Regions from separate parts of the Homo sapiens genome. Here all the other regions are linked to region 2. Evidence: promoter capture Hi-C in human tissues and cell types (Jung and others, 2019). All regions are on one chromosome and are shown on one strand. The core of a region is centred on a gene start or on the middle of the fragment in contact, and the rest is flanking DNA. Distances in the headings are between cores, read along the strand shown. Region 1 has its middle 85 kb from the start of AGTPBP1. Region 2 holds the start of C9orf153 (chromosome 9 open reading frame 153). Region 3 has its middle 66 kb from the start of AGTPBP1. Region 4 has its middle 86 kb from the start of NAA35.

Region 1 (5,767 bases), core at 245-2,744, 430 kb after region 2:
AACATCCTTTTTTTAAGTTCCCATTTATCATTTAAAATGCTACTGTGTTTAGTTAGGTACTATTTCAAGAAAATCTACAGAGCTAGATGCATTAAGAAACTCTACCTGCAGTCTATTCACTTTTTGCGCTTCTTTCAAAGATACAGCATGCCCTTTGTTTTCCTGTACCATCATCTGCACTTGATTCTTCAGTTCCTTAACCTCCAGTTCCTTCTGATTAAATACTACTTCATCAGCAGCAAGCACACACTAGTGGGGAAAGAAGGCACAAGTGACATTCACCATGGAAAATAATCAAGAAACCCCATATGATAACACAAAAATGGTGATTTGATTATAGCTTGATGATGTCTCATAAATTTTTTTTCATTTTCAACTTTTTCTGATTTCTTTCTAAGAAAGGCAGAAAGAGTTCAGAGAACCTACCATTGCTATAACACAGGAATTCATTACCATGAAGACAGAAGATTTTCCTGATTTTTACTTCCTGTATATAAAAACTAGTTGTTTTGGTTCTAGAGTACCTTCACTAAGATTTTTACAAGTTTGCTAGAACTGCTATGAGATTTTAACGTGGATCACTCAAAGAGCTCACATTTTCCAAATTGACATATAGGGTTATAAGAATACATTAGGGCATTTGAATGAAGCAGATTTGCTGATTTTGTACACTTTCATTATGAAGAGATATATTTTGAAGATGTCTAAAAATGATTAAACAGTTTTACTTTTTGGTTTCTAGTAAATTTGCCGATTTTTAAGTACATTTGGGATATGTAAATAATAAAGTAGTTTTTAAATGAAATAAACAGAAAATTATTTGTCGAGAGCCTCATTCCACATATTGGCTTGGCATTTTAAAAATCTCACTAAATAAGATGTTGGTGTGGATGCGGTGATCAGGGAACACTTCTACACTGCTAGTGGGAATGTAAACTAGTACAGCCACTATGAACAACAGTGTGGAGATTCCTTGAAGGACTAAAAGTAGAACTACCATTTGATCCAGCAATCCCACACTACTGGGTATCTACCCAGAAGAAAAGAAGTCATTATACAAAAAAGATACTTGCACACGCATGTTTACAGCAGCACAATTCGCAACTGCAAAATTGTGGAACCAAACCAAATGCCTATCAATCAACGAATGGATAAAGAAACTGTGATTGATATATATATATATATATATATATATATATATATATATATATATATATATATATATATATATATATATATATCTATATCACAACTCCTATATAAACCAACTCCTATATGTGTCCCAACATTCAAGCTTCCAATTACCAGTACTTCCTGTTCCACCAGTTTCTTATACTAATGAGGAAGGGCCTGCTCTACCTAGACAGTTATTACCTTTCAGAAAAAAAAAGAACTAAAAAAAAGATTTAAGAAGTATTACCTTACCTGTTTTTATGCTATTATTTATTTATTCATTTATTTTTAGAGACAGGGTCTCACTCTGCCACCCAGGCTGGAGTGCAGTGGTGCAATCATAGCTCACTGCAGCCTTGAACTCCTGGGCTCAAGTAATCCTCCCACCTAAGCCTCCCGAGTAGGTGGGACCACAGGCGTATGCCACCATGCCTGGCTAGTTTTTTGATTTTTTGTAAAACAGGTCTCATTTTGTTTCCCAGACTGGTCTCAAACTCCTGGGCTCAAAACAATCCTCCAGCCTCAGCCTCCCAAAGTGCTGTGATTACAGGCATGAGCCACTGTGCTGGCTGAGACTAGTACATTTTAATGTACCGATCTTAATGTAACAAGATAGTTTCAAATCTCATATTTCAAGTAACTAGAAATTTCTGCTTGTTGAGTTTGGTGTAATAGGAAAGAAGAACATCCACAATTATCTGAAAAAATCAGTGAAATACTCCTCCCTTCAAACTATGCAATTATGAGGCTGAATTTTCTTTACAAACTTCAACCAAAACATATTGCAACAAACTGAATACTGAAGCAGATATGAAAATCCAACTTTCTGTTATTAGGTCAGATGTTAAAGAGATTTGCAAAAATGTAAAGGAATTCTACTCTTACTAAAATTTTTTGTGTGTTGGCCAGGTACGGTGGCTCATGCCTGTAATCCCAGCACTTTGGGAGGCCGAGGCGGGCGGATCATGAGGTAAGAGATGGAGACCATCCTAGCCAACATGGTGAAACCCCGTCTCTACAAAAATACAAAAATTAGCTGGGCATGGTGGCATGTGCCTATAGTCCCAGCTACTCGGGAGGCTGAGGCAGGAGAATTGCTTCAACCTGGGAGGCGGAGGTTGCAGTGAGCCAAGATCACGCCACCACACTCCAGCCTGGCGAGAGAGCAAGATTCCATCTCAAAAAAAAAAAAAATTGTTAGAAAATATTTTTCATTAAAAATGCCCTTTATATTAACATGTAATTGGGTTACTGTTAGTTTTGAATGAATAAATAGCTTAGATTTTTTCAGTTTTAATTCTAACACAGTAAATATCAATAGATATAACCCACATAAACAAAAGCTCTTTGAGGGATCTCGCTTTAAAAGTGTAAAGAAGTCATCCTGTGATCAAAAAGTTTGAGAACTTGAGCACTGCTGCAACAGAGGATAATACAAATGCCTTCTTTATAATATTACATGTAAAAAGGCTTTGAGGAAATATTTCTAGCTAGATAGAGAAATAAGCTTAGAGCCTAAAAAAAAGGAAATATACTTAACTATATTTCCTTTTTAACTAAAAAGCTATCTTTTTAAGTTTTCCTATTTTGAAAAATGGACAGAACCATGGAAGCTGGGAACCATGTTATCTCAGGAACAACTGAAGGACCATTCATTTGCTCACTAGCTTGCAAACTCCACCCAAGCAAGCAGTAACTAGGTGTGTCCTGTCCTCCACTATTCCCACGACATACAATCTTCACACAATAGTTTCTGAATGAAAAGCGGGGAAATGTAAATCTGAACTCAATACATGTACATATAACATGTATACATGTACATGCCTACATTCCTTAAACATTAATAAATATGCTAATTTGTTGGTTTTTTTAAAAACCTATACTCCAAACACAAGAGATGAAGTAATTTTTTCTTTCAAGAACTACTGACCGACAAAGGGAGAAAAACTCAGTAAAAGATAACTTAAGTTTTATTTCTGAAACAAGTTTATTTTCAGTCTCTAAATTGACAACCAGATCCACCGAGTTCTATTTAATAAATATAACAAATTAAAATACACTTTAACCGAAGGAGAAAGGAAGAGGAGCCAAGAAGGGTATGAATTGTGAGCAGGAAGCAATATGAAAGGGGAGGGTAGAAAGAAGGAAGTAAGAGACGCAAGTGGGATCTTTTTTTTTTTTTTTTTTTTGAGACGGAGTCTCGCTCTGTCCCCCAGGCTGGAGTGCAATGGCGCGATCTTGGCTCACTGCAAGCTCCGCCCCCTGGGTTCACGCCATTCTCCTGCCTCAGCCTCCCGAGTAGCTGGGACTACAGGCACCCGCCACAACGCCCGGCTAATTTTTTTGTATATTCAGTAGAGACGAGGTTTCACCGTGTTAGCCAGGATGGTCTCGATCTCCTGACCTCGTGATCCACCCGCCTCGGCCTCCCAAAGTGCTGGGATTACAGGCGTGAGCCACCGCACCCGGCCTATATCCAAAAATATTTCAAAGAGAAGTAGGTGGACTTAGGAATTGAATCAGAGAAGGAAAGCTCCTGATTTCATGCTCAAATTATATTGCCATAATTCCTCTTTACTCAGATACTGTCACATCACTATTTCTTTAAAAAATAATCATTTCAGTTTCATTATTTCCATCATGACGCTTTTTAAACAACCCAGTTCATTTAAAGTCCTGTAAGTCATAGTAAAACTTTCATTAAATTTTTCCAATGTTAGGCTATAAGTTAGCACTATGGTTCTTGAATGCAGATGCAAATCACCTGGTAGCTTTATAAAAAAGAAAGTGCCAATGCCCAGGTACCATCTCAGACCAATTAAATCAGAATCCCTGTGAAGTAGGACCCAGAAATCAGTATTTTTAAAAAGCTTCCCACGTGTACTAATTGTGTGGCAGCAAGCATGGACATCACTGCTTCATACAGAGATTCTAAAGAAATATGTCAAACAAATGCACTTTACTTGTGAGTGGGACATTATGTAAGACATACTGTAATTTAAGATCATTTGTAACATCCTTCCAAAATTTTTTCAGCATTGATATCAGATATGAAGTATTTTGATCAAGTTTATCAAGAGTGATAGTGAAGTGTATATACTTCTATTCTGCTTGATATTTTACAAAGAAGCATGTATTATTTTTGTAACTCTTTGATAAAAGATGAAAACATTCAATAATTGTATTCCATAAGATAAAGGAGCTCAAAACATCAGTCTGAATTTTATCCAGAAGAGATAAACTGTACTGAATTATCTAATAAGACCATAAGCTACCATATATAGTTTCTTCTTAAAAAAACAAAAACAAAAACAATTTCTTCAACCATGCAGGAATGCCAGGACAGGGGCTATAAAGATGCAAGATTTGCTGCCTCCTGTAGGCTGCTATTTGAATGACTAAAGCCATCTTACTTTCCTAGCTGCTAGGAAATTCCCTCCTCTGGCAGGATCTCCAGGAAGATTCTACTAAATATGGTTTTTAGGGGAAGAAGACATCCAAGAATAGGACAGGCATGGTGGCTCACGCCTGTAATTCTAGCACTTTGGGAGGCCAAAGCAGGCAGATCTCTTGAGCCCAAGAGTTCAAGACCAGCCTGGGCAACATGGTGAAACCCTGTCTCTACAAAAAAATACAAAAATTAGCCAGGTGTGGTGGCAGGTGCCTGTTAGTCCCAGCTACTCGGGAGGCTGGGGTAGGAGGATCACTTGAGCCCATGAGGTTGAGGCTGCAGTGAGCTGTGATTATGCCACTGCACTCCAGCCTGGCTGACAGAGGTAAGACCCTGTCTCCAAAAAAAAAAAAAAAAAAAAAAAAAAAAGAATAGTCACTGCAATATTATTTAATAATAGTTAAAACCTAGAAACAGCCTAAATGTCCAACAATGGAATATTAAATAACTATAAACACATTCATAAGACAAATTACCATATAAACATGAAGAGTCAAGTATGAAAAATATTTAATCATGTGCGAAAATATTCAAAATATAAATATTAAGTGAAATATAAAATGCAAAACTGTGTGTAGGGTTGCAAGTACATATTTTTAAAAAATTATATGGGCCAGGCACGGTGGCTTACGCCTGTAATCCCAGCACTTTGGGAGGCCGAGATGGGAGGATCACGAGGTCAGGAGATTGAGACCATAATGGCTAACACGGTGAAACTCTGTCTCTACTAAAAATACAAAAAATTAGCTGGGCATGGTGGCAGGCGCGTGTAGTCCCAGCTACTTGGGAGGCTGAGGCAGCAGAATGGCGTGAACCTGGGAGGCGGAGCTTGCAGCGAGCCCAGATCGCGCCACTGCACTCCAGCCTGGGTGACAGAGCAAGACTCCGTCTCAAAAAAAATAAATAAATAAATAAATAAATAAATTATATGTACCTAGAAAAATAATTCTGGAAGGAAACCCACCAAAAAGAGATGTTGGTATTTCTAGGCTCTAGAATTAAAGATAATCTTTTAACTTTCTTCCTTACACTTTCCTGTTTTGAAAATACTCTTGATGAACATGTTAGCTTTTAAACTAGAAAAGCATAAATTGTTATTCTTTAAAATATTTGCAGTTTGAGCCTCCCATTCTAACCTTCTCC
Region 2 (5,526 bases), core at 3,027-5,526:
CACAGCTTAAATAAAATAGCTAAGGTGGCCAAGTCAGAATCGTACCCTGTGTCTATGGCTCCAGATGCTGTGCTCCCAGCTGTTAGGCCATACTGCGTGTCCTGATAGAACCAACGGAGTGCGCTTCTAAAAAGGTAGCCTACAGGTTATGACCCCTGCGCCTAGTTGAAAGAGATTTGGGGAAGAGGGAAGACAGTGAACAGTACTAAAGAGGGTTGAAAAAACACAGAGGGCGTGTTCTCACTCATAGGTGGGAATTGAACAATGAGAACACTTGGACACAGGGCAGGGAACATCACACACCAGGGCCTGTCGTGGGGGAGGGATAGCATTAGGAGATATACCTAATGTAAATGACGAGTTAATGGGTGCAGCACACCAACACGGCACATGTATACATAAGTAACAAACCTGCACGTTGTGCACATGTACCCTAGAACTTAAAGTATAATAAAAAGTAATAATAAAAACACAGTGAAGCTAAGCACTCCGGAGAATGAGGCCCGGAGAGGAGCAGTAAGGCTGGAGGGCAAGGTAGATGCCTGGGGCGTTTGGGCTTTCTGCAAGTTCTGTAGGCCTTGGGGCCACTGAAAGTGTTTAGGGGCACTCATTAGAAAATTGCATTTGGAAGTGTTTCCATGGCCTGGACTAGGCTGGCTGATGAGGACAGGAAGAAGCTACTGCAAAGCCCGCTATAATAGGACCTGAGCAGGGACCCGTGAGAGAAAGGCTTAGGAGGCAGAAAGGATGGTACTCTATCCGTAGCCCAACCTCATCAGCCAGTGTTCTGTGACTCATTTCTATTTGTACAGGCAGTACTTGTACTGTTCATTGGTTTTGGTTCTTGTCTCTTGTACAATATTGAAAGGATCTTGGAGACAGGAACGCAATTGCTTCTTCAGTGTTCGTTTAGCATCGGGCAGGTCAGAATTATTTTTGCAAAATGGCTCCATCCTACGGCCATGTCACACCATGTCATGCAAGCCTTAGCCCTCACCAGGAAGGTTCTGTCTGTTGCACCACATTCATCCACATTCTACTCACAAACACTGGTCATTGTGTTAGGCGATTTGGTAGTGCCCCTGGGTGATGTGTAGGCCAGCAGATCTGTCGCTTAGCAGCAGACTTCAGGCTTTTCATGATCAGTTATAAGCCCACTCTTCCACATCAGGATGCTAAATTGAATGAATCAGGCCATGAGGACAGAGGCCTGCTGTGCTTCATTGTTGCAGGGCGCCTCCCAGCCCTCTGTCACCGGACCCACCAGAATGATTTTTTTTTTCTCAAACAGGAAAGGGTTGGGAACAATCCCTACAAGATCAGATGTCCCTAAGATTTCCAGTATTTCCTAGGTTTCACTCAGCAGGAAATACCTCAAAAAAAAAATGGCCTTTCTTGTCATGTTTTGATACCTGAGAAATCAGGAAATGGAAAAGCCTGTGCTAAGCTGAGCTGTAAGCAACATCAGTGTCTCATTTGAGCCTTAGAGCAGACGTGGCATGGGCCAGACACAGCATCGACCCAGAATAAACCCAAATACAGCTCACCTGAGCTCAGTGCAGGCTGGGAGGCTGGCCTGGAAAGGTGTAGGTTTGGGGTGAGATATGCCTGGATTTGAATCATGGTTCCTGTCATTTTGTAGCCATGTAACCTTCTGTAAAACAGTCTCAGAATTTGGGGGGATGTGATGAGCTAACTACACATAAATGGCATCCTGCTAAGGGTAGACGTTTCATACGTTGTAATTCTTGTCCCTTTTAGCCATTTTCTTGTGCAAAAAGGGATAATATGTTAATGGATTATCAATCAAAGCAAGAGCTTAGGGAAAGAGTTTCAACACATTTAGGGAGTTATTGTCCCATATTCAAATCTGGGGGAAATTTGCTGTATTTCCTTCAAATAAAAGACCACAGTAACTTCTTTGAAAAGAACCATAAATTTCAAATATAAACATTCGGAGAAATTTCATTCTCTTAGTAGCTGATTAACTATAGACAAACCTGCCTTAATTGAGGAGCTGTTTTGAAAGCTCATTCCCCAGTAGGAACTCAATCTCCTGGTCCCAGGTGGGTCTCATCAGACAAGAGATGGAGGAGAGAGGGAGGTGCACCCTAGCCTCAGCCTCTATTGAAATACAGAGCCATGTGGTGGTTACATCACTGTGGACTCCCATCCTCCCTTGCTGCTGTGCAGTGTTCAGGGAAGGCTTCATTTCACACCAACCTTTAGCGGGGCAAGGGCTCTGTACCAGCGGTACTCAGCTTAAAACTAGCCTACTTTGAGGGCCTTGATGGGTTACTGCTTTTACTTCCACTAGCTAGTGATTCCGAAACTTTTCATGATGAAGTGCCCATTTATTGGGCCAGGTGTGTTGGCTCAAGCCTGTAATCCCAGCACTTTGGGAGGCAAAAGTGGGCAGATCACCTGATCCCAGGAGTTCAAGACCAGCCTGGGCAACGTGGTAAAACGCCGTCTCTACAAAAAATACAAAAATTAGCTGGTCATGGTGGTACATGCCTGTAGTCCCCGTTGCTCAGGAGACCAAGGTGAGAGGATCACTTTAGCCCAGGAGGTAGAGGTTGCAGTGAGCCAAGATCGTACTACTGCACTCCAGCCTGGATGACAGAGCAAGACCCTGTCTCAAAAAAAAAAAGAATAAAAAATAAAGTACTCATTTTTTGTTCTCCATGGATTCTATGTCTTGAAGCAGTCCTCAAACTTTAAGGTGCAAATAAGTCACCTGGGGGTCTTGTTAAAAAGCAGATTCTTGGCCGGGCGCAGTAGGTAGCTCACGCCTGTAATCCAGCACTTTGGGAGGCTGAGGCGAGTGGATCACTTGAGGTCAGGAGTTCGAGACCAGCCTGGCCAACATGGTGAAACCCCATCTCTACTAAAAATACACAAAAATTAGCCAGACATAGTGGTGGGCGCCTCTAGTCCCAGCTACTCAGGAGGCTGAGGCAGGAGAATCACTTGAACCTGGGAGGTGGGGAGGTTGCAGTGACATGAGATGGCACCACTGCATTCCAGCCTGGGTGACAGAGCAAAACTGTCTCAAAAAAAAAAAAAAAGCAGATTCTGTAACAAAGGTCCAGGGCAGAGCCTGAGATTCTGCATTAGTAGCAAAGGCCCAAGTGAAGCCAGTGCTGTTGCTCTGCAGAACACCTTTGAATGGCAGGCTTTTGAAATATTTTCTCATTGGAAGAATCTTCTGTATTTATTAAATTCTGCTTAAAATTATTAACTTTCTTGTATATCCATGTTCATAACAGCATTATTCACAATAGCCAAAAGGTAGGAACAACCCAGGTGTCCATTGACAGGGGACAGGGGGTGAGAAATTTATTTCATGGACACAGATTCAGGTGGAAAAGATGAAAAAGCTCTGGAGATGGAAGGCAGTGCAGGTGGCACAACAATGTGAATGTACTGAATGCCACAGAACTGTGTACCTAAAACGGCTTAACACGGTAAGCTTCATGTTATGGATATGTTGCCACGGTGTTCACAAGTTATTAACTCAATCAGACTATTTAAATGCCCAGTAGATTGCATTCTGGGGAAATGGCTGTTTCAGGAAAATTTTCAGTGATTGCCACAGGGACCTCCCATGGGTGGGGAATGGAGTCTGGAGCACGGCTGCATGGCTCATGGAGAGAATTTGCACAGCCAGGTAGCCCCTGGTCCACTTCTACCCATATCTGGCCAGGTGCAAAGAGCATAGCTGTACCTTCTATTATCTCTCTCAATTTCTTATTTGCACTTTGCCCATGTCTATAGAAGGAAAAACTTGACTGATTAAAAATTACATTCACGGCACCTGTAGTCCCAGCTACTCAAGAGGCTGAGGCAGGAGAATGGCGTGAACCCGGGAGGCGGAGCTTGCAGTGAGCTGAGATCGTGCCACTGCACTCCAGCCTGGGCGACAGAGTGAGACTCCATCTCAAAAAAAAAAAAAAATTATACTCACGCCAGCCTGGGCAACATGGCGAAACCCCATCTCTAGAGAAAAATACATAAATTAGCCAGGCGTGGTGGCGTGCGCCCGGGGTCCCAGCCACAAGCTGAGGCAGAAAAAAAAGTAGCTACTCAGCTACTCAATGTTCACTCTTTAAAAATGCTTTTCCATCATCCTCCACCGTCTCCCACCCCCCACCAAGCAGCAAGATAATTCCCCATCGCTTAGCATCATATAGCTGCTTATGTGACCTTGAGAATGTCCACATGTCACAATGGACAGTCACTTAACACTAAGCAATGACACATGCTAGGAGTGGGGCTGGGCCTTGGGGCTGCTGGATGAATGAGACCCAGCCTCTGCCCTGGGAGTGCAGAGACTCAAGACAGATATGACCACGTGAAGAGACAACTGTAAAACAAGTGGTAAGTGCATCTACAGCCATAGCCACGGGGCACTGTGAGACCACAGAGCAGTGAAAACTAAGCCAGTCTAGGCTTGGCAAGGAGAGATGGAGTGAGGTGGGCAGTGGCTAAGGTGGGAAGACCAGAGCTGGGAGGTGAGATGGGATTTGGGTTTATCTTTACCAATAAGGATGAGGAGCCTGTTTCATCTTCCTCCAGGCAGGTCACAGAAGCTGGAACCAGTTGATCGGGCCGAGCCTGCAGACTCCCTCATCCTTTCCGGCCTTCAACACTGATAGCTCTGCTCTCTCTCCCCAACCTCAGTGCCTTCATCCTCCCCTGTGTTCCCATGGATGCTTGGTCCTGACTTTGCACCTCTCCCTCACACCCAGTGTCCTTTGTTTTTCCTCTGCCACTTGGGAGGCTGATGGGAGGATCACCTGAGCCTGGGAGGTTGAGGCTGCAGTGACCTGTGTTCACGCCACTGCACTCCAGCTGGGGTGACAGAATGAGAGCCTATCTCAAAGAAAAAAAAAAAACACTGCTCTGTATGATACTATCAAAGTGGATATATGTAATTGCACATTGTGAAATCTCATAGAATGCACAACACCAAGAATGGACCGTAATGTAAACTGTGAAGTATGGGCTTTAGTTAGTAACCATGCATTGATACCGGCTCATCAAGTATAACAAACGTACCACACAAACATAAGTAGTAAAAAAAAAAGGGGAAAGCTGTGTGTATGGTGCAGAGAAGGGGGGTTGTGGGAACATTGTACTTTCTAACCAATTCTAAAATTGCTCTAAAATTTAAGTATATTAATATTTTTAAAAAAAGTTTCGTTAAATTAGCAATATAATAGTTGCTTACCCAAGAAAATTCAGGTTTTCAAATATTGCGTTTTAAAAGCAATTATTTCCGGATGTGAGGGTGATCTGGCTGCAACATCTGTCACCCCACTGATGGCCAGGGTTAATTTGTCTGATCTGGCTGGCTAGGTGGATGTCTCCTTCCTCCCTCATCCGTCCACATGCGTCCTTCCAGACGCTGCGGACAACCTTCCCCAACAGAGGAGGGCCGTTCTTTGGGCAAGGGTATATGAGTAGCTGCACTCCCCTGCTAGAACCTCCAAACAAGCTCTCTAAAAGTAATTACTTCAA
Region 3 (5,558 bases), core at 1,489-3,988, 450 kb after region 2:
TTTGAGACAGGGTCTTACTCCCACACCAAGGCTGGAGCAGTGGTGTGATCACGGCTCACTGCAGCCTCAACTTCCTGGTCTCAGGTGATTCTCCCACCTTGGCCTCCGGAGTACCTGGGACTACAGGCACGTGACACCATGCCTGGCTAATTTTTTGCAGAGACAGGGTTTTGCCATGTTGCCCAGGCTGGTCTTGAACCCCTAGGCTCAAGCAATCCTCCTACCTCAGCCTCCCAAAGTGCTGGGATTACAGGAATGAGCCACCATGCCCGGCTCTACAATGATATTAGTTCTTAAAAAAAAAAAATCTCAAAAAGAAAAAATGGTTATCTATACTCAAGTTGAAAAAGTTAAGCATAATGTAATCAATACAATATTGATTTTTTTGCCCTGTGTCAAAATTTAGAAAGGGCAACTACAGGTCAGAATTGACAATGAGACGCCTTTGGCCATTCACATCAGTGATGGACAAGTCAAATGACAGAGAGCAACTATCGAAGACTAATATGTTGCATACTTTTAAGAGAACATTATCCTCGTTAACTAATTTTTCAGAATTTTCAAAAAGATAGTCATGTTTTGCAATCCGGGAATTCCTCCGTAACTTTTTTTTTTAATCTTGATAAGAAGAAATAAATAGGAAGACTACGAAAACATTAGGCTTTTAAAAGATACTATATTTCAGGTCATGGCTAGGGTTAGTATTCCTTCAGTCTTGTGTCCTAAACTTCTGCATCTCCACATACAGTCACATCTAAGAGATGTTAGGATAAATAGATTCAAACACAGCTCTTCTCCCTCCCTCTCTATACTTTTTCTCTTTCAAATACACTTGGTCTTTAAAATTTAGATGCTTCTATGCTCAGACATTTATATACACATAATATAATTAAGGCATACAATGCAAATGAAAATACAATGGACTGCCAATTAAGTTACATACATTAGTCTATGAATATGGTGGCTAATACTGTATATTAAACATTTACATATTATTAAAATACTACACAAATCAGGTTTTTGGTGCAGAAATCTAATGATTATTTTATTTACATTTTCCCCCTCTTCCCTTTGAGTTCCTTTGAAAAATAATTTCAAGGATATCTTGGCTCAGTGGTGCACACCTGTAATTTTAGCAACTTGGGAGACTGAAGCATGAGATCACTTAAGTCCAGGAGTTTGGGACCAGCCCAGGCAACATAGCAAAACCCTATCTCATAAAATAAATGATAAAACTAATTTCAAGGATAATGCATAGTTGAAGGAAGACAAAATAAATTCACAAGATAATTTTAAAAACAGAAATGTTTCAGGGCAAAATGTGAAATAAACACACATTCTCAATATGCAGGCAGTTCACCATAAATATATCTTCTACTCTCTTCCATAATGTAATGACTACCACTAGTAAAAACTATTAATTTATACTTAAGATGGCAGCAGGCCAGACATGGTGGTTCATGCCTGTAATCCTGGTACTTTGGAAGGGCTGAGGTGGGCAGCAGATTGCTTGAGCCCGGGAGTTCAAGATCAGCCAGGGAAACATGGCAAAACCCCTTCTCTACAAAATGTACAACAGTTAGCAGGCATAGCGGTGCACGACTGTGGTCCCAGCTACTTGAGAGGCTAAGGTGGGAGGATCACCTGAGCCTGGGGGTCGAGGCTGTAGTGAGCAGTGATTGTGCCACTGCACTACACCTTGGGTGACAGCCTGAGACTCTTTGTCAAAAAAGAAAAAGAAAAAAAAAAGATGGCAGCAGTGTCAAAAATATAACAGTCTCTATTTTACATATACTTCATACCCAAAAAGCCAACTATTTGACTTATTAAATGTAATAGCATGCGTTAGGGCTTTCTCTAGCAACCCTCTTTCTTCAGATTTTGCATGTACTCCAAGAAAAAACAACTTGAAATTTCTTGAACACACAGTTTACTTGTTCATATCTTTAACTATGCTGTTCTCTTTTATCTACAATGCCATCTATCTCTTCCACTGAAAACTTCCATTTATTCCTCAAAATCCTGCTCAGGTGCTAGCATATCTGTGAAGCGTTCTCTGACCTGTTCCTGAAGTCAAACATTCCCTCCTCGGTAATATTTCCATACTTTAAACTTACTATTATTGAATGGACTCCAAAAAAATTCTCTTTATTGTTGTGTCTAGCCCTATGATCCTGATTTCAAGATCCTGAAAGACAAGTTTCTATCCCTTACAAATACCACAGGACCTGGCACATAGAAGACACATTTATTGAACTCAGTGTTTTCTTCATGTTTACATTCTTCAAGTACACAGCTGTCTATGCAGTGAAAAATGTGCTCTACAAGTAGAAAAAGAAATATGTGAAGTGCACAATAGACAATCCTCAATTCCCATAATGCAGATGTGCATGAGCAATTATTAGCAGTTCAAAGTTGTTTCATTACGGTAAGTACTATTCTAACAAACTAACTGCCCCAACCAATTTTGTCTAGGAAGCATATATGGTTTTAAAGTGTTGATTTACGCCAGCTGGGCATGGTGGCTTACGCCTGTAATCCCAGCACTTTGGGAGGCCAAGGCGGGCGGATCACAAGGTCAAGAGATCGAGACCATCCTGGCCAACGTAGTGAAACCCCATCTCTATTAAAAATACAAAAACTAGCTGCGAGTGGTGGCGCACGCCTGTAGTCCCAGCTACTCGGGAGGCTGAGGCAGGAGAATCGCTTGAACCAGGGAGGTAGAAGTTGCAGTGAGCCAAGATTGCGCCACCACATTCCAGCCTGGCAACAGAGCGAGAGACTGTCTCAAAAAAACAAAAAACAAAAGTGTTAATTTAAGAGAATTAGGATGCATCGGTTGCTTACGTAAACTCTTCTAAAAATGAATAGCCTAAGCTACAAGCAGGAGAACTTCTTTTTTTTTCTCTTTGTGTATACATGGGGTCTCACCACGTTGCCCAGGCTGATCTCAAACTCCTAAGCTCAAGCAATCCTCTAGCCTCGGCCTCCCAAAGTGCTGGGATTACAGGCATGCACCACCAAGCCTGACCCAAGCAGAAGAATTCCTAAGTGGCTGGTAGTCTTGGCCTCTATCAAGGTTTGGAGGCACATTGCCATTATGACCTTACCCTCTACACTATGACCTCACTAGAATCAAGACAGACAGCAGCAGCCATATCTCAGTCCAGAAGACCACAATTAGGGAGCTTCAAAACACACACACACACACACACACAATTATATATATAAAATCCTTAAATCAAGAACAACCAAATATATCACTTTTTATGAGATGAATGATAGCCATCTTCTATTAACACTACCAATTAGCCTGACCAAAAAAAGGTATTAATGTAGATGCCAATTAGTGTGGCCTCACTGAAATATAACTTAGATTGAAATTAACTGAGCGTAATATGAAATGGCACCAAGTATCACTGATTTAACACCTGGTGAAATAAAAAATTGTGTTATTTCATGTTCTGTTCTTCAAATAACCAAACAGTATCTTTCACTTTGGCTTCTTAAAAATTAGCGTTCACAGGCCAGGTGTGGTGGCTCACACTTGTAATCCCAGCACTTTGGGAGGCAGAGGCGGGCGGATCACAAGGTCAGGAGTTCCAGACCAGGCTGGCCAACAAGGCGAAACACCATCTGTACTAAAAATACAAAAAAAAAAAAAAAAAATTAGCCAGGCGCCTGTAATCCCAGCTACTCAGGAGGCTGAGGCAGGAGAGTTGCTTGAACCTGGAAGGCAGAAGGTGCTGTGAGCCGAGATCGTGCCATTACACTCCAGCCTGGGCAACAAGAGCAAAACTCCGCCTCAGGGAAAAAAAAAAATACAGTTCACAATCAGCAAGTGTGAAGTGCATACTAAAACTCTGCTCCAAACACACTTACTGTAAGTGATGTAAACCCAATGGGTATGCCCCAAACTCCATTTTTTCCTCACAGTTAAGTACTGAGACCCCTCTCCAATCTGCAGCTCCCACTTTCTGTAGGCCAAGAAAGTTAAACAAAAAAATACAAGCAGGTACTCAGTGAGGACCTGAGGGATTCTCCCACGAGTAAAATACATCTATTTTCACACAAGGTTCTTTTGGTCAACTTCTGGGTTTTGCTCTTACTCCAGAATTGAAGCTACTATAGTGTTATAAATCTGTTGAGAAAAGAAATCTAGATTTGTATGAAGATCTTTAATATTTTAATTTGCCAAAAAGCTTCTCAAATATTTTTATAGCTACAAGTCACATTTATTAAGTGATTCCAGTTACAATCCCAAGCACATTTACTACACAACAGGCAATGCTAAATGTTGAAGAAAAGTGTCTCCAGCTTTTTAGTGTAAGACAGACGATCTTTCATTAGTCCTTCTAATGAAAGCATTAGCATCTACTCTGAAAAATCTGGCGAAGGTAAAGAGTGAAAAAGAGGAGGAAGAGAAAAGGCAATCAGCCAATTTGATAAACTATTTTTGTCGTTACTGTTCAATATTTATGAAGCACCTTAATGCTCGAAATCTGACAAAAATTCGGTAAGGCTGTTCCAAACAATAACAGAAAAAAAAATCACTTTTCAATAGCTGGCGGGGGAGGACGAGGAGCACTATATTCAAAAAGTAATTCACTATACCTCATTCATGAATGAAAGCCAAATTTCACCCATAGGCTGTTAACCGATGCTCCGAAACTTATTCGCAAAGTACATAGAGAAAGAAATTGCGCTGGGCGAAACCTAACTCGGCCAGAGAAGCGGCTTCAAAACCTGAAAGGGAGAAAACAACGAGTCAGGTCGTTGCTCCAGAAATTTCCGAGCGCCTGGCTCCCCGGGAGGGAGTGCGGGCGCCAGCGGCGGTGAGGGGACGGTGGCACCTGTCACTCGAGCGGCCCCCACGGAGTCTCGGGAGGCTCAGCGGTCGCCGGCCTGGGAGTCGGGTGCGAGTCCCTCCCCGCCGCCCCGAGCCTTGCGCCGAGCGTAGGGCCGCGGCCCCTTCCGCGGAGCGGCCCTCCCGTGCCCTCTGCCCAGCGGCTCCGGCCAGTGGGGCCCGTCGCCTCAGGCCGAGTCCCCGCCACCCTAGGAGCCGAGGGGAGCGCTGTCGAGCCGCTGCTTACGCCTCCGGGGTTCCGGAGCGGACACCCGCGAGGCGGGCCCGCCTCCGCGTACTCACCGGGCCTCCCGGGCCGCCGGCTCGGCCCTCCTCTCCCTCCTCCCCCCGCCGCCGCCTCTCCCGCGGCTCCCCAGGCGGCCGCACTGGGCGTTGGGACTGGTCTGGGTCAAGTGTCGGCAGAGCTGGGGGCAGGCTCGCGCCGGGCGGGGGTCGCGGTCGGCCCACAGGCTGGGCACTAACGGGTCCCGGGGCGCCGGGGCGGACTGCGGCGGTGAGCGCGGCTGCAGGCCGCGGTGAGGGGCGGGAAGAGCGCAGCTGCGAGCAGGCGGGCGGAGGGTAGCGGGAAGCCCGGGCGGAGGGGGCGGCGTGAGAGCCTCGGGGCGGGGGCGGGGCCTGGCGCGTCCGCCGAGCGCGGGGGTTTGTTTATTTTCCCGGTTGGTAGCGGCGCTGGCGCTGGTTAGAGGTTCGC
Region 4 (5,647 bases), core at 2,993-5,492, 410 kb after region 2:
TGAGTTCAGTTAACATCAATTAGTTTTCAATCAACTGATAATGTTTGGATGCACCTACTGAAAAAACCCAAATTTATTGTCTAACCATATTGAAGACAAGAAGAATTGCTCATCTGGGATTTTTTTTTGTTTTTTTTTCGAGACGGAGTTTCGCTCTTGTTGTCCAGGCTGGAGTGCAATGGCACTATCTCGGCTCACTGCAACCTCCGCCTCCCAGGTTCAAGCAATTCTCCTGCCTCAGCCTCCCGAGTAGCTGGGATTACAGGCATGCACCACCACGCCCGGCTAATTTTTTGTATTTTTTTTAGTAGAGACAGGGTTTCTCCATGTTGAGGCTGGTCTCGAACTCCTGACCTCAGATGATCGGCCCGCCTTAGCCTCCCAAAGTGCTGGGATTACAGGCGTGAGCCACCGCGCCTGGCCTCATCTGGGATTTTTATCAGTGTAATCAGCAAGCCAAACTGTCTGGTAGCTTTTTTTTTTTTTTTTTGAGACAGAGTCTCACTCTGTCGCCCAGGCTGGAGAGCAGTGGCGTGATCTCAGCTCACTGCATGCTCCGCCTCCTGGGTTCACGCCATTCTCCCACTTCAGTCTCCTGAGTAGCTGGGATTACAGGCGTCCACCGCCACACCTGGCTAATTTTGTTTTTGTATTTTTAGTAGAGACAGGGTTTCACCGTGTTAGCCAGGATGGTCTCGATCTCCTGACTTCGTGATCCGCCTGCATCAGCCTCCCAAAGTGCTGCGATTACAGGCATGAGCCACCGTGCTCGGCCAGCTCTCTCTTAAATGTAGCAGCTGGAAACATTCTTTTTGCTACAAGGAAATGGGAAAATAAATCAATCGGGATAGCTGGGCTCAAGTCATGGGAAGATTTCATCTTTTAAACTGGCTTTCCTTCTAATTACAAAAGTGATCTATGTTCCTTATAAAAATGTAGAAAAAAAAGTAAAAGGGAGAAAATAAAAAATCACTTAGCCACATTCAGAGATAGTTATTATTTTTGGTATATAAGCTAGCTGTTTATACAAATATATATATTCATACATATACATATGACTTTTTTTTTTTTTTTGAGACAAAGTTTCGCTCTTGTTGCCCAGGCTGGAGTGCAATGGCACGATCTCGGCTCACTGCAACCTCCACCTCTGGGGTTCAAGCGATTCTACTGCCTCAGCCTACCGAGTAGATGGGGTTACAGGCGCCTGCCACCATGCCCAGCTAATTTTTTTGTATTTTTAGTAGAGATGAGGTTTCACCATGTCGGCCAGGCTGGTCTTGAACTCCTGACCTCAGGTGATCCACCCGCCTTGGCTTCCCAAAGTGCTGGGATTACAGGCATGAGCCACTGTGCCTGGCCTACACATGACTTTCAAAAGGAATTTCTGTTTTTAATTTGAGTGCACAATGTAATGCCACTCTTGACTGGTTTTTAACAGTTTCCTCATCTATATACATGTGTATTAGTCCATTCTCACACTATAAAGATACTACCAGAGACTGGGTAATTTAGAAAGGAAAGAGGTTTAATTGATTCACAGTTCTGCATGGCTGGGAGATCTCAGGAAACTTACAATCATGGCAGAAGATGAAGGGGAAGCAAGGCACATCTTACATGATGGCGTGAAAGAGAAAAGAGAGAGAGCGCAGGAAAAAACTCCCACTTATAAAAACCATCAGATCTCCTGAAAACTCACTCACTATCACAAGAACACTATGGGGGAAACCACCCCCATGATCCAAGCACCTCCCAGCAGGTCCCTCACTTGACATGTGGGGATTACAGGGGTTACAATTGGAGATGAGATTTGGGTGGGGACACAGCCAAACCATATGAAATGACTGTGGGTTAATCTATACATGAAAAGCTTTTTCCCTATATAAAATGCTGAATAAAAGCTAAACCACGGCCGGGCACGGTGGCTCACTCCTGTAATCCCAGCACTTTGGGAGGCCGAGGCGGGCGTATCACCTGAGGTTGGGAGTTCAAGACCAGCCAGCCAAACGTGGAGAAACCCCGTCTCTACTAAAAACACAAAAAAATTAGCCGGGCATGGTGGCCCATGCTTGTAATCCCAGCTACTCAGGAGGCTGAGGCAGGAGAATTGCTTAAACCCGGGAGGCTGTGATTGCAGTGAGCCGAGATCGCGCCATTGCACTCCAGCCTGGGCAACAAGAGCGAAACTCCCTCAAAAGAAAAAAAAAAGCTAAACCAAAAGCCACAAATTTAAAAATAATCAAGTAAATTAAAAAAAAAAATCAAGCAGGTACTATGTACACGACATAATCTAAAGTCATGATATAGTATTCAATAAACATAAGTCTCCCTCTCACCTCCACCAGATAGCCTCGCAGTTCTCTCCAGAGGCAACCATTATTATCGGTTCCTTATTTAGCTTTCAGTGATATTCTGTGCATATCCAAGCATGTATATGAATTGCAATGATTAATAAGATTTCTGGTTTATATGTAGAAGTAGAACCCAAATATTTTTTTCCTTTCTTATTTATTTTTGGTTGAGACAGGGTCTCATTCCACTGTCCAGGTTGGAGTGCAGTGGTGATCATAGCTCACTGCAGCCTCAAACTCCTGGGCTCAAGGGATCCTCCTGCCTAAGCTTCCTGAGTAGCTGGGACTACAGGTGTGTGCCACCATACCCAGCTATTTTTTAAAAAATTTGTGTAGAGACAGGGTATTGCTATGTTGCCTAGGCTGGTCTCAGACTCCTGGACTCAAGGGATCATCCTGCCTTAGCCTCCAAAGTGCTACGATTACAGGCGTGAGCCACTGAGCCCAGTCACATTTTCTCTTTCTGCCTCCCTCCCTCCCTTTTTTTTTCTCTTTCTTTGTCTTTCTCTCCCTCCTCCTCCCGTCCCTTCCCCGCCCCCTGCTTCCTCCCTCCCTCCCTTTCCTTCCTTCCTTTTCATTTCAGTAGGTTTTTGGGGAACGCGTGATGTTTGGTTACTGGATAAGTTCTTTTGTGGTGATTTATGAGATTTTGGTGCACCCATCATCACCCTAGCAGTGTATGCTGTACCCACTTATAAGTGAGAACATATGATGTTTGGTTTTCCACTCCTGAGTTACTTCACTTAGAATAATAGTCTCCAATTGCATCCAGGTTGCTGCTTATGGCTGAGTAGTATTCCACGGTATATATATACCACACTTCCTTTATCCACTCATTGGTTGATGGGCATTTGGACTGGTTCCATATTTTTGCAATTATGAATTGTGCTGCTATAAACATGCAAGTGTAATGTGTTAAGTGTCTTTTTCATATAATAACTTATTTTCCTCTGGTAGATATCCAGTAGTGAGACTGCTGGATCAAACGGTATATCTACTTTTAGTTATTTAAGGAATCTCCATACTCTTTTCCATAGTGATTATACTAGGTTACATTGCCAACAACAGTGTAAAAGTGTTCCCTTTTTACCACATCCATGCCAACATCTATTATTTTTTGATTTTTTAAATTACAGCCATTCTTGCAGGAGTAAGGTGATATTACATTGTGGTTTTGATCTGCATTTCCCTGATAATTAGCAATATTGAGCATTTTTCCATGTTTGTCACTTGTATATCTTCTTTTGAGAATTGTCTATTCATGTCCTTCGCCCATTTTTTGATGCAATTATTTGTTTTTTTCTTACTGATTTGTTTGAGTTCTTTGTAGATTCTAGATATTAGTCTTTTGTTGGAGGTATAGATTGTGAAGATTTTCTCCCGCTCTGGGTTGTCTGTTCACTCTGCTGATTTTTTTTTTTTTTTTTTTAATGAGATGGAGTCTCGCTCTGTCGCCCAGGCTGGAGTGCAGTGGCGTGGTCTCCGCTCACTGCAAGCTCCACTTCCTGGGTTCACGCCATTCTCCTGCCTCAGCCTCCTGAGTAGCTGGGACTACAGGCGCCTGCCAACATGCCCAGCTAATTTTTTGTACTTTTAGTAGAGACGGGGTTTCACCATGTTAGCCAGGATGGTCTCAATCTCCTGGCCTCGTGATCCGCTTGCCTCAGCCTCCCAAAGTGCTGGGATTACAGGCATCAGCCACCACGCCCAGCCTGATTATTTCTTTCTCTGTGCAGAAGCTTTTCGGTGTAATTAAGTCCCATCTATTTATTTTTGTTTGTTTTTTATTGCATTTGCTTTCGGGTTCTTGTAATGAAAGTTTTTGCCTAAGTCAATGTCTAAAAGAATTTTTCCAATGTTATCTTCTGGAATTTTTATGGTTTCAGATCTTAGATTTAAGTCTTTGATCCATCTTGAGTTGATTTTTGCATAACAGGAGAGATGAGGATCCAGTTTCATTCTCCTACACGTGGCTTGCCAATTATCCCAGCACCATTTGTTGAACAGGTTGTCCTTTCCCCTACTTTATGTTTTCATATGCTTTGTCGAAGATCAGTTGGCTGTAAGTATTTGGCTTTATTTCTGGGTTCTCTATTCTGTTCCATTAGTCTATGTTCCTATTTTCATACCAATATTATGCTGTTTTGGTGACTATAGCCTTGTAGTATGGTTTGAATTTGGGTAATGTGATGCCACTTGGATAAATTCTTTAGGATAAATTCCTGTAAGTGAATCAAAGGGTATGCCAAATTTTAAAGCTTTAGATTTGGCAGGAATATTTAAGTTCCACTTCATAAACAAAGAATGTGAGGGTGGCCAGGAACAATGGCTCACACCTGTAATCCCAGCACTTTGGTAGGCTAAGGTGGGTGGATCACCTGAGGTCAGCAGTTCGAGACCAGCCTGGCCAACATGGTGAAACCCCATCTATGTTAAAAATACAAAATTAGCTGGACATGGTGGTGCATGCCCGTAATCCCAGCTACTTGGGAAGCTGAGGCAGGATAATCGCTTGAACCTGGGAGGTGGAGGTTGCAGTAAGCCGAGATTGCACCATTGCACTGCAGCCTGGGCAACAAGAGCAAAACTCCATCACACACACACACACACACACACACACACACAGAATGTGAGTGAGGGTGTAGTGGTTTATATGTATGGATCTTTAAACACTTATTTATTCTACATAACTGCAACTTTGTACCATTTGACCAACATCTCCCCGTTTCCCCTATCAGCATTTCCCTATTTCCCACTCTGACTGATTTTTGATAAGGGTGCCAAGTCCATTCAATGGAGGAAAGAACAGTCTCTTCAACAGATGCTACTGGTACAACTGGAGTTCCACATGCAAAAGAATAAATCTGGACCACTACTTCACACCATATATAAAAACTGACCCCAAATGGACCAATGACCTAAATATAAAAGCAAAAACCATAAAACTCTTAGCAGAAAACATCAATCTTCATGACCTTGGATTTAGGCAATGGATCTTAGACATGACACCAAAAAGCACAAGCAACAAAAGAAAAAAATAAATTGGACTTCAACAAAACTAAAAATTTCTGCATATCAAAGGATATTATCAAAGTATAAAGAAAACCTACAGAATAGGAAAAAGTATTTGGAAATCATGTATCTGATAGAATTTAATGTCAGAATATATAAAGAACTCATACAACTCAACAACAAAGACAAAGAACCAAATTAAAATGTGGACAAAGAACCTGAATAGACATTTCTCCAAAGAAGATTTATGAACAGCCAATAAGCACATGAAAAGATGCTCAACATCA

The links. The method cuts DNA at HindIII sites, captures the fragments that hold promoters and counts their contacts. A contact is called where the count stands out against the background at its distance.
Region 1: a fragment that was not itself captured here is called in contact with the fragment with the promoter of C9orf153 in region 2 in 2 of the 25 tissues and cell types used here (mesenchymal stem cells and stomach).
Region 3: a fragment that was not itself captured here is called in contact with the fragment with the promoter of C9orf153 in region 2 in 1 of the 25 tissues and cell types used here (mesenchymal stem cells).
Region 4: a contact is called between a fragment that was not itself captured here and the fragment with the promoter of C9orf153 in region 2, in 2 of the 25 tissues and cell types used here (bladder and dorsolateral prefrontal cortex).

What each region holds. Positions count from the first base shown.
Region 1 is chr9:85,823,945-85,829,711 of GRCh38, reverse strand. It overlaps the pseudogene LOC389765. Among named protein-coding and RNA genes, the nearest start is that of AGTPBP1, 85 kb to the right of the region's middle. The HindIII fragment of the contact is 3,736 bases long and covers 1-3,362 here.
Region 2 is chr9:86,258,407-86,263,932 of GRCh38, reverse strand. C9orf153 (chromosome 9 open reading frame 153) reads left to right here and starts at 4,276. Exons shown (of 4, transcript NM_001276366.4): 1 at 4,276-4,383. It also overlaps the pseudogene RN7SKP264. The HindIII fragment of the contact is 6,872 bases long and covers 707-5,526 here.
Region 3 is chr9:85,805,190-85,810,747 of GRCh38, reverse strand. It overlaps a transcript of AGTPBP1 not described here and the pseudogene LOC389765. Among named protein-coding and RNA genes, the nearest start is that of AGTPBP1, 66 kb to the right of the region's middle. RefSeq lists silencers at 4,725-5,134, 5,165-5,474. The HindIII fragment of the contact is 9,468 bases long and covers 1-5,558 here.
Region 4 is chr9:85,851,918-85,857,564 of GRCh38, reverse strand. No RefSeq gene overlaps it. Among named protein-coding and RNA genes, the nearest start is that of NAA35, 86 kb to the left of the region's middle. The HindIII fragment of the contact is 4,000 bases long and covers 2,243-5,647 here.